Linked DNA regions of Homo sapiens: region 1 is linked to region 2. The links are contacts of gene promoters, found by promoter capture Hi-C in blood cells and fetal thymus (Javierre and others, 2016). All regions are on one chromosome and are shown on one strand. The core of a region is centred on a gene start or on the middle of the fragment in contact, and the rest is flanking DNA. Distances in the headings are between cores, read along the strand shown. Region 1 holds the start of RBX1 (ring-box 1). Region 2 holds the start of CHADL (chondroadherin like).

Evidence for each region. Contacts are between HindIII fragments. The CHiCAGO score rates a contact against its expected background, and 5 or more counts as called.
Region 1: a contact is called between the fragment with the promoter of RBX1 here and the fragment with the promoter of CHADL in region 2, in 3 of 17 cell types (neutrophils, erythroblasts and M0 macrophages). The highest score is 6.9, in neutrophils.

The regions. Positions count from the first base shown.
Region 1 is chr22:40,947,483-40,953,121 of GRCh38, reverse strand. RBX1 (ring-box 1) reads right to left here and starts at 1,744. Exons shown (of 5, transcript NM_014248.4): 1 at 1,646-1,744. The coding sequence starts at 1,723. RefSeq lists enhancers at 424-1,012, 1,468-1,677, 2,192-2,782 and a silencer at 1,728-2,307. The HindIII fragment of the contact is 5,907 bases long and covers 1,172-5,639 here.
Region 2 is chr22:41,238,272-41,243,750 of GRCh38, reverse strand. It overlaps CHADL (chondroadherin like), which reads left to right and starts at 2,820. Exons shown (of 6, transcript NM_138481.2): 1 at 2,820-2,877; 2 at 4,131-4,308; 3 at 4,866-5,479. The coding sequence starts at 2,870. RefSeq lists enhancers at 2,216-2,716, 2,717-3,217, 4,667-5,254, 5,255-5,479. The HindIII fragment of the contact is 52,914 bases long and covers 1-5,479 here.

The sequences.
Region 1 (5,639 bases), core at 495-2,994, 290 kb after region 2:
CTGTTTGGGAAGCTGAGGCAGGAGAATCGCTTGAATCTGGGGGACGGAGGTTGCAGTGAGCCAAGATCGTGCCACTGCACTCCAGCCTGGGCGACAGAGTGAGACTCCATCTCAAAAAAAAAAAAAAAAAAAAAAAAAGGGCACAAACTTGAATTTCTGTGCAGGTTTTGGTGGCAGTTGCAGAAGAGCTCAAAATCTGAATAAGTATCTGCTCTACACAGCTCTGGAAGCATGAGCAATGAAGTGAAAGCTAGAGAACAGAATGAACTAAGATAATGACTGGATCATAAAATGGGTAATCATGGGATAAGCTGGATAATTAAATACCCGTGTCAGTACACAGAACAAGGTCATCACTTAAATCTTAGATTACTTCATAACAAATTCTACAATTCACTAGAATTTTGATTCTTACCATAAAATAAACTGATGTTCTCAACTTTTATATGTTTAGACTCTTCTATTAAGATAATAATTCCAGTAAGAGTTTAACAGAATTTCATTCATTCAACTCTGGCTTCCTCAATTACAAATACTCCCAAACCTTCTTCGCTTTCAAACCCCATTCTCAGTGCCTAGTAACTTCTTTACCACTTTTCACATCACAGCTTCAAGGTGGAGGAAAAGCCCCTACTTCTATTATTTTTCAATATGGCTGCTGGCTGTAACTGAGCAGCAGTGGCCACAATGAGACACCAAAAAGCACTAGGACGGGGGATATTGTCAGTGTTTAGCCAGATGTTCTAGGAATATCTTCCCTATTTTAGAATCTCCATTTTGAACAGCTTTCATGTTAGGTGAGAATCGATACTGTTCTCCCAAACTGTGGCAAACCACTAAAAGGCATTTCATGCAAAAAGACACGTTCCATTTTTGCTTTCCCACGCTTACCAAGTCGTTCGCGACTAGTACTCAACCCTCCCTAACTGCCACAGGATTTGGGCTCGGATTTTCTTAACAAGTTCCACCATGCTTTTTATTATTATTTTGGAAGGGGGAGATTCTGGACGTGACAGAGAACCCAAGAGTGGGGTGGTTGTGTGAAAAGCCAACAGACGTCTCAGAAGAGCCAAGCATTACACTCCAGACTCTAACCAGGCAGTGTGAGGCCTCGGTTCAGCGAGGATCCCTCCAAGTGAGAGGACCCCTCCAAGTGAGAGGACCCCAAGCTTCAAAAAGGGGCGGAGCAAGATCACCAAGGGGGGTCCTCAGAGGCCTCTAATGCGGTAGGACCTCAGGTTCCAGGCTCTCGCCGCACTGCCCCATCCTCCACCGCCGCATTCGCTTCGACTCCCCATTCCACCCACCCCACCCCACCCTACCCTGTCCTTCCCCCACCTCTCAACCACTCCAGTGACAGCTCAAGCGCTTGGCTCCCGCCGCCAAGTCGCAACCCCGCGTATCTCAATAAGCAGCTCTGTGATTGGCCCCTTAGCCTCACAGCGAAACCAACACTTCCCCCAACAGTGGGCCGCCGTCACGCCGATCAACTCTAAGACCCGCCCCCCGGCTTCCTTTCGTGGTACCCGGTCCCAGGAACGCCCTGAAATGAAACCCTTTACTCCGCGCCTCGACCATCCTCGGGCCTGCCAGCCAGATCCGCGCCTCTCTAGCTTCCCTGAGGAAGGCGCTGGCGAGACCCAACCTTTTTCACTTCAAAGCGCTTCTTGCCCGCGCCGCTGTTGGTGCCGCTCGGGGTATCCACATCCATCGCTGCCGCCATTTTGGAAACACACGGTCTGTCGTCCGACCACCGCGCCTGCGCAGCAGCGCACACTTCGCTCCCCCCACCTCCCCGGCACCTCCTCCCGCACCCCACCCCTTACTGGCGCGCGAGGCGGAGGTGGGGGCGGAGCACGTGACCACGCCTCTTAAAGGGGCTGTCGCAGGTCGCCCCACCCGCGAACTGTAGGCCGGGGAGGGGGCGGTGGCCGGAGTGGGTGGGGCGGGGCCGGGCGGGGCCGGGCGGGGCCGAGGCTACGTGAGCTAGCCGGGTGGAAACGTTCGAAAGGGCTCGACGTCGCCGCCTCCTCTGGGAAGCCCCCGGCCGCACTCCGTCAGCTGGGGCGGCGGCTGCTTCCTCCGCCTGAGCCAGACCTGCGCCGCAGTCCTGTCCTGCCTGCCGGGCTCGCCGAGTCGCCGCGCGGCTCCCGGTGCTGGCGTGGGTGGGCGCCCGCGGCCTGCCCCGAAACCCAAGAGTCCTCGCTGGTCTTTCGCAGACTCTGACCCGCTTCCGAGCCAGGCCCAAGGTGCAGTCCCCGTGGGAGGGCTGGGGCCCAGGCACCGTCTGGTCTCCGATTTCTGTTCGGGAACTGCTCAGGGATTCGATGGGGAGAGAGGAGACCCCCGAAGTTCCTCCCTAAGGCCACACTGAGCAGGCCCCCAGCCCTGCCTTTACTCGCCCGCCAAGCCTGGGGGGTGGCCTCTGCGCCCACATAGTCGCAGTCCTAGGACCGCCTTTGGTCGTGGTGCACGGTTTCACCGTAACGTGTGTCAGTCCCCACTCCGCATTCCTCAGTTGTCATCTTTGTAGGGTGATTTCTCCCCGATCTGTGTCCTTTTTCCGCTGCTTGTGCTGTAGTGAAACCGACCCATCTGCAGTCGCTGTATTTCTTGAATTTTTGTGAGGCATTCTTTTTTAACTCTTGTTGCCCAGGCTGGAGTGTAATGGCGCGATTTCGGCCCACTGCAACCTCCGCCTCCAGGATTCAAGCGATTCTCCTGCCTCAGCCTCCCGAGTAGCTGAGATTACAGGCGCCCGCCACCACGCCCGGCTAATTTTTTGTATTTTTAGTAGAAACGGGGTTTCACCACGTTAGCCAGGCTGGTCCCGAACTCCTGACCTCAGGTGATCCGCCTGCCTCGGCCTCCCAAAGTGCTAGAGCCGCTTTTTTTTTTTTTCTTTTTTAATTTTTTTAAAAAATAGAGACAAGGTCTCACTATGTTGCCTAGGCTGGTCTCGAACTCCTGGGCCCAAGTGATCCTCCCACTTCGGCCTCCCAAAGTGCTGGGATCACAGGAGTGAGCCATCCCACCCGACCCAAGCACCTGTACTTTGTCACTCTCCCATTTCTGGCTAGACCAGGACTCCCTTTGACATCTCTAACCTTGCAGAGGTGTGACTCTGCCAGAGCACTCTTAGATGTCGTACAGGTGCATTTGAAGCCTTGTATTTTCTCTTAAAAGATAACTGGCGGGTAATGGAGCGTGCTGACTCTATTGCTAAAGAGAAAGAATAGGCTGGGCGCGGTGGCTCACGCCTGGGAGCCACTTTGGGAGGCCGAGGCAGGTGGATTACCTGAGGTCAGGAGTTTGAGACCAGCCTGGCCAACATGACGAAACCCCGTCCCTACTAAAAATACAAAAATTAGCTGGGTGTGGTGGCACGCGCCTGTAGTCCCAGCTACTCAGGAGGCTGAGGCAGGAGAATCTCTTGAACCCGGGAGGTGGAGGTGGCAGTGAGCCGAGATCGAGCCACTCTACTCCAGCCTGGGTGACAGAGCGAGACTCCGTTCCCCCCCAAAAAAAATAATAAAAGAGAAAGAACTGAGATTTGTTTGTTAGTTATAAACAGCAACAACAGATCCGGGAAAAGACCACCACAGCTTTATCCAGACTTGGAAAGAAAAATTGTGTGAGACCTTAAAGGGCTACAAGAACCCTACAAAGTTTTTCTTAGCCCAAGTTTTAATGACTTTGTTAAAATTTCTGTTGTTAATTTGTTGTGTGCCTACAGGCCCTGACAGGAATACTAGAAACCCATTGTAAATTAAGGTCTTGAAGACATATTTATCAATCATTCAATAAAAGTATTGATATTTACCAGGTTCTGTTTTAAACAGAAGAGACATAATAACAGAGTCAAATAAACCCCTAGTTAGGGAATAATATGCAAGTCAACAAATAAATACATCAAGAAGTCTCAGGGCCAGTCGAGGTGGCTCTAGCCTGTAATCCCAGCACTTTGGGAGGCCGAGGTGGGAGAATCACCTAAGGTCAGGAGTTAGAGACCAGCCTGGCCAACATGGTGAAACCCTGTCTCTACTAAAAATACAAAAAAATTAGCCGGGCGTGGTGGCGGGTACCTGTAGTCCCAGCTACTCAGGAGGCTGAGGCAGGAGAATGGATTGAACCCGGGAGGTGGAGGTAGCAGTGAGCCAAGATCGTGCCTCCAGCCTGGGCAACAAAGTGAGAGTTTATCTCAAAAAAAAAAAAAAAAGTTTCACGTATCCGCCAGGCGGGGTGGCTTAGGTCTGTAATCCCAGCACTTTGGGAGGCCAAGGCAGCCGGATCACTTGAGTCCAGGAATTCCAGACCAGCCTGGCCAACATGGTGAAACGTCTCTACAAAAAATACAAAAGTAAGCTAGGCGTGGTGGCACATGCCTTTAGTCCCAGCTACTCTGGAGGCTGAGGGGGGAGGATTACCTGAGCCCATACATGGAGGTTGCAGTGAGCTGAGATGGCGCCACTGCATACCAGCCTGGGTGACAGAGCGAGACCCTATCTCATAATAAATTAGTAAAAAATGCTGCATTGAAAAAAGTCTCTGGCCGGGCATGGTGGCTCATGCCTGTAATCCCAGCACTTTGGGAGGCCGAGGTGGGTGGATTACCTGAGGTCAGGAGTTCAAGACCAGCCCAGCCAACATGGCAAAACCCCATCTCTACTCAAAATACAAAATTTAGCCGGGTGTGGTGGCTTGCACCTGTAATCCCAGCTACTTGGGAGGCTGAGGCAGGAGAATTGCTTGAACCCGGGACGTGACAGTTGCAGTGAGCCAAGATTGTGCCATTGCACTCCAGCCTGAGTGACAGAGTGAAACTCTGTCTCAAAAAAAAAAAAACAGTCTCAGGTATCAATAAGTGTTGTGAAGAAAACAAGGTAATGAGATTGAGGGGAGAAGGAGGCAACAGTAAATTGGGTGATTAAATAAGACTTCTGTGAAGAGTGACATTTAAGCTGAAGTCCTTTAAATGGTCCTACATGATCTACTTCCCCATCCAATTTACATGTACCTTCTAACATATTTTTTCTAAGTTGGGCATGTGGTCCCAGCTACTCAGGAAGCTAAGGAGGTGGGAGAATCCCTTGAACCTGGGAATTCGAGGCTGCAGTGAGCTGAAATTGCACCACTGCACTCCAGCCTGAGTGACAGAGCAAGACCCTATCTCCTAACAAACAAACATATTTTGACATTTACTTGTGTATTAGGATTATTGTTTTTTGTATGTCCTCAGCAAGAAAAGGGAATTTTGATTTGTTTATTGGTAACAAAAACTGGTACATTGTATGTGCTCATTATGTGTTGAGTAAATAAATTTGGAGCTTACTGAGCAAGCAGAAAGTAGTAAGAGATGTCAGAGAGGCAGGCAGGGGCCAGAGCATGCAGGGATTTTATTACAGATCTTATGGGAAGGCATTGAAGGTTATTATTTTTTTTCTTTTGTATGGTCTTGCTCTCTTGCCCAGGCTGGAGTGCAGTGGTGTAATCTCAGCTCACTGCAGCCTCCAACTCCTGGATTCAAGCGATTCTCCTTCTGCAGCCTCTCCTGTAGCTGGGATTATAGGCACCCGCCACCAACGCCTGGGTAAGTTTTTGTATTTTTAGTTCAGGTATCCTCCAGGAAGGGTGGCTTG
Region 2 (5,479 bases), core at 1,571-4,070:
TGTGTTGTCCAGGCTGGTCTTGAATTATTGGGCTCAAGTGATCCTCCCGCCTCAGCTCACTTAACAGGCATGAACCACCATGCCCGGCTACAGTGCTCTTTCTAATAAACCCATGCTGGAAACAACCCAAATGTCTATCACTAGAGGAATGGGTAAGCTACTTGTGGTACGGTGTGGTACCGAGAAGGTAGGAATGGTCTGCCCAAGAAGAAATATTTTAGCATTGACATTGTTTAGACTTGTCAGCACATGATAATAAAAAGCAGAGACCAACTTTAAGTCAGTTCCATTGTGTCTCACTTCTCCACTGACAGCACACCCGCTTACTGCCTGCATTGTGGGCAGACTGCCTCCCGCCCCTGCCCCATGCCACTGTTGTCATATATTTATAGAATGGAAGGCTGGAATGCTGAATTTAAAAAAAAAATTAAAATAGATGAAGCCGGGTGCGGGCTCACACCTGTAAATCCTAGGACTTTGGGAGGTTGAGGCGGGCGGATCACTTGAGGTCAGGAGTTTGTGACCTGCCTGGCCAATATGGTGAGACCCGTCTCTACTAAAAATACAAAAATTAGCTGGGTGTGGTGGCGGGTGCCTGTAATCCCAGCTACTCGGGAAGCTGAAGCAGAATTCCTTGAACCTGGGAGGCGGAGGTTGCAGTGAGCTGAGATCACGCCACTGTACTCTAGCCTGGGCAACGAGAGCTAGACTCCGTCTCAAAAAAAAAATAAAAAGATGATTCTCACTAACATAATATTGAGTGGAAAACGCCAGACACAGCCAGGTGCAGTGGCTCATGCCTGTAATCCTAACGCTTTGGGAGGCCGAGGTGGGAGGATCACTTGTGCCCCGGAGTTCAAGACCAGCCTGGACAACATAGCAAGACCCCAACTCTACAACAAATTTTAAAACCAGCTGGAGGTGGCGGTGCATATCTGGAGGTCCCAGCTGCTTGGGAGGCTGGTATGTCAAGGCCGCAGTGAGCCATGATCACACTTCACTCACACCTGGGCAACAGTGAGACCCTGTCTCAAAAAAAGGACGAAAGAGCACACTGAAGTTCCATTGATTGGAATTTGCCAAGCAAAAAAAGCACAAAGCAGATGGCTGTGTGGCATGGCACTATTTCTTTTTTTAAAATGTTACTGCAGGGCTGGGCGTGGTGACTCATGCCTGTAATCCCAGCACTTTGGGAGATCAAGGCGGGCAGATCACTTGAGGTCAGGAGTTCGGGACCGGCCTGGCCAACATGGCGAAACCCCGTCTCTACTAAAAATGCAAAAATTAACCAGATGTGGTGGTACACATCTGTCATCCCAGCTACTTGGGAAGCTGAGGCAGGAGAATCGCATGAACCAGGGAGGTGGAGGTTGCAGTGAGCTCCAGCCTGGGCGATAAAGTGAGACTCTGTCTCAAAAAACAAAAAACTCCTGCAGTCTAGGAAAAGTACACACAGATGTTCATTGTTTAACATATATAAATATATATAAACATATACATTTATATTTTTATTATATATAAATATATACACACATAAGTGTATACACACACACATACATATATATATATATATATATATATATATATATATATATATATATATATATGTATATATTTTTTTTCTTTTTTGAGACAGTTTCACTCTGTTGCCCAGGCTAGAGTGCAGTGGCGCCATCTCGGCTCTCGCGTTCATGCCATTTGCCTGCCTCAGCCTCCCAAGTAGCTGGGACTACAGGCGCCTGCCACCACACCCGGCTAATTTTTTGTACTTTTAGTAGAGATAGGGTTTCACTGTGTTAGCCAGGATGGTCTTGATCTCGACCTCGTGATCCACCCGCCTCCGCCTCCCAAAGTGCTGGGATTACAGGCGTGAGCCACCGCGCCCGGCCTTTTTTTTTTCTCTTGAGACAGAGTCTGTGTTGCCCAGGCTGGTCTCAAACTCCTGGGCTCAAGTGATCCTCCCACCTCAGCCTCCCAAAGTGCTGGGATTACAGGCATGAGCCACTGTGCCTGACCCCTGTTTCCAATTAAAGGAACAAACAGTAGAAGATGCAATTCCATCAGAAGCAGGAATCTGAAAAATCAAGATACATGAACATTGGCCATGGTCTGGATGTATTATTTAAAAAACAAACACGAGCTTGGGAAGATGCGTATTTGGATATTCTTTGCAATATTGTTTGTAAATAGCAAAAAATTGGAGGTAGCCAATGTCCAAGATGAATGGCTAAGTCAATGTGATACATTTACACAATGGAATACTATATACCACAGAATAATGAGATTCGGAAGAGTCAATTTGGATAACTCCCAGTAATCTGAGGTTAAGTGAAAAAAATGAGTGTCTAGAATCCTGTGTGTCCAGTATTAAACTATTTATGTCAATGTGTAAGCACAAACGGAAGGAAAGGGTCACCTGTTCTGAAGCACCCACTGTGTGCCAGGTGCGGGCCTGAACCCCCACTGTGACCTCAGAGCTACTTATTAATGGGATGTGTTTTTCAGAGACTAGGAAGCAGCCTCTGGGAGGGCAGCCCACATGGCAGGAGGGAGCCCAGGACTGCTGACTCCCGGGCCAGCTGCTGGTGCCCCCTCCCTGTCGGGCTGGCCCAAGGATTCAGGCCGGGGCCTCAGTCCTCGGCTGGGGCAGGCAGGAGGCCCTGTAACTCCAGCCGCTGCTCCCGCCCGCCGCCCGCCCCTTCTTCACCTCAGCCTGGGGAAGCCTGGCTTGCCTGGTCTGCCGACAATGCCTCCCATTCAGCCCTGTCCCAGCTGCCAGGCCTGCGGGCCGTGGAGGGGGGCTCCTGCCAGGCGGGGACAGCCTGTCCCTGCGCTGCGCCTCCAGGCTGGACCAGCAGTTCCAGGCGGCATGGAGGGGTGAGTCTTTGGGCCCGATGGTGCAAGGGGGGATTCAGAGCAGCTCAGTGGCCTCAGGTAAGTCTCTGCCCCCTCTGGGCCTCTCAGAGGCTGGCGGGCAGGGGCTCTGGGGACTTCCTGGGGTTCTCCAGGAAGGGGGTCTCCCAAGGTGGGCTCTGAGACACGTGGCAATGTGGCCACTGCCAGGAACTGGTCCTCTGGGGCTTGTCTGAGAGCCCAGCAGTGGTCCCTGCATTATGAATGCTTGTCGCTTCAGCGATCTGTCCCCATGGGTCCCCTCCCTGGCCTGCCCTGAGGCACAGCCTTCACCACAGGCTCTGGAGAAGCCACCAACTCCAACGCAGGGGCTGGAGCCTGGGACCCAAAGGAGACTCCAAAACAGACGATAGTCCAGTGAGCAGCGAGGGGGAGGCTCCTGGGGGCCGGGGAACAGCCCAGCGATGGGGGAGAGGCCATGCCTGACACAGGCTGAGAACAGAGGGGCCAGCTGGGCAGGGGAGGTGATCTATCATCCTAGCGCTTTGGGAGGCCAAGGTGGGACAATCACTTGAGGCCAGGAGTTCAAGACCAGCCCGGGCAACATAGCGAGACCCTGTCTCTACCAGAAGTAATTAAAAAATTAGCCAGGCGTGGTGGTGTGTGCCTGTAGTCCCAGCTACTCAAGAGGCTGAGGTGAGAGGATCACTTTAGCCCAGGAGGTGAAGGCTGCAGTAAGCCATAGTCATTCCACTGCACTCCAGACTCCAGCCTGGGCAACAGAGCAAGGCTTGTCTCTATTTAAACAAACAAACAAAAAAAGACTCAAGGACCCGGACTGGATGCCTCCCTCCTTTCTGGGGGGTACCATTATGCTCCTGCCACCTGGGAGCTGGCATCATATCAGTCTGAGGACAGGCTGCTTCCGAGCCTACCCTGGACCAGAGCCTCACCACAGCCTGAGAACATGCTCTGAACTGGAGTCATTCTCACAGTCAGCAAGTCCTCACTGAGCCATTGGGCAGAGGCAAAGGGACTAACCAGGTCACTTTTCTGAGCCTCGGTTTCCTCCCATGTAAAACAGGACTAATCATAGGACCTCCACTGCGTGGGGGGTGGGGGGCAGGGAGGCTCAGGGTGATTGGCACTTTCCTGGGCCCAAAGGAGGAGGCTCTGAGGGGTTTTTGGGGCAGGAGCTGCACCATGGCTGGGACTAAGTGAGGGACAGCATGTGGCCTCGGCCCTTGTGCACAACAGACTCTCCCTCCCCGTCCCAGGCCCCGGAGCTCCACCCATGTCCCCTTGGTGCTGCCGCTTCTTGTACTTCTGCTGCTGGCCCCGGCTAGGCAGGCCGCCGCCCAGCGCTGCCCACAGGCCTGCATCTGTGACAACTCCAGGCGACACGTTGCCTGCCGGTACCAGAACCTCACTGAGGTGCCAGACGCCATCCCTGAGGTCAGCAGGGCAGGAGCACAGGCACAGAGTGGCAGTGGGGCAAGGTGGGGACCCAGAGGGAGGAGCCTGGGCTGGGCACCAGTTGATCTGCCACCGCCTGCCCGGGAGACCTTGGCAAATTACTTCTCTTTGAGCCTCAGTTTACACTTCTGTAAAATGGGAATAATAAAAACCAGTAACAGGGAGATGATCTATTTAAAATCCTTACTGTGTGAATGGAATAAGTAGGTGACCCATAGATCGATACTGAATTCACTGCAGACCCTGTGGTGGAGAGGCGGGCTGTGGCAGGGTGAGGTGTGGTCTCTGCTCTGCAGAGTCATCAGCTAGTGGAGGAGAGAGAGCGAGGAGGCAGGGACAGCACAGTGTGAAAAATGCCACAGTGGGTGATGCCCAGGGCACTGGAGAGGAAGGCTTCCTGGAGGAGGTGTCAGGGGTCGGATGAAGAGAAATATGGGAAAGGTGACAGGAGAAAAGAGTGTTCCGGGGAAGAAGCAGCACTTGCAAAGGCGGGGTCCCTGCCTGGCTCAGCCCCACTTTCTCCTCGCTGTCCCCAGCTGACCCAGCGGCTGGACCTGCAGGGCAATTTGCTGAAGGTGATCCCCGCAGCCGCCTTCCAGGGCGTGCCTCACCTCACACACCTGGACCTGCGCCACTGCGAGGTGGAGCTGGTGGCCGAGGGCGCCTTCCGTGGCCTGGGCCGCCTGCTCCTGCTCAACCTGGCCTCCAACCACCTGCGTGAGCTGCCCCAGGAGGCGCTGGACGGGCTGGGCTCGTTGCGGCGGCTGGAGCTGGAGGGGAACGCACTGGAGGAGCTGCGGCCGGGGACGTTCGGGGCACTGGGTGCGCTGGCCACGCTAAACCTGGCCCACAACGCCCTGGTTTACCTGCCCGCCATGGCCTTCCAGGGGCTACTGCGCGTCCGCTGGCTGCGGCTGTCGCACAACGCGCTCAGCGTGCTGGCCCCCGAGGCCCTGGCTGGCCTGCCCGCCCTGAGACGGCTCAGCCTACACCACAACGAGCTCCAGGCTCTGCCCGGGCCTGTCTTGTCCCAGGCCCGCGGCCTGGCCCGTCTGGAGCTGGGCCACAACCCGCTCACCTACGCGGGCGAGGAGGACGGGCTGGCGCTGCCCGGCCTGCGGGAGCTGCTGCTGGACGGCGGGGCCCTGCA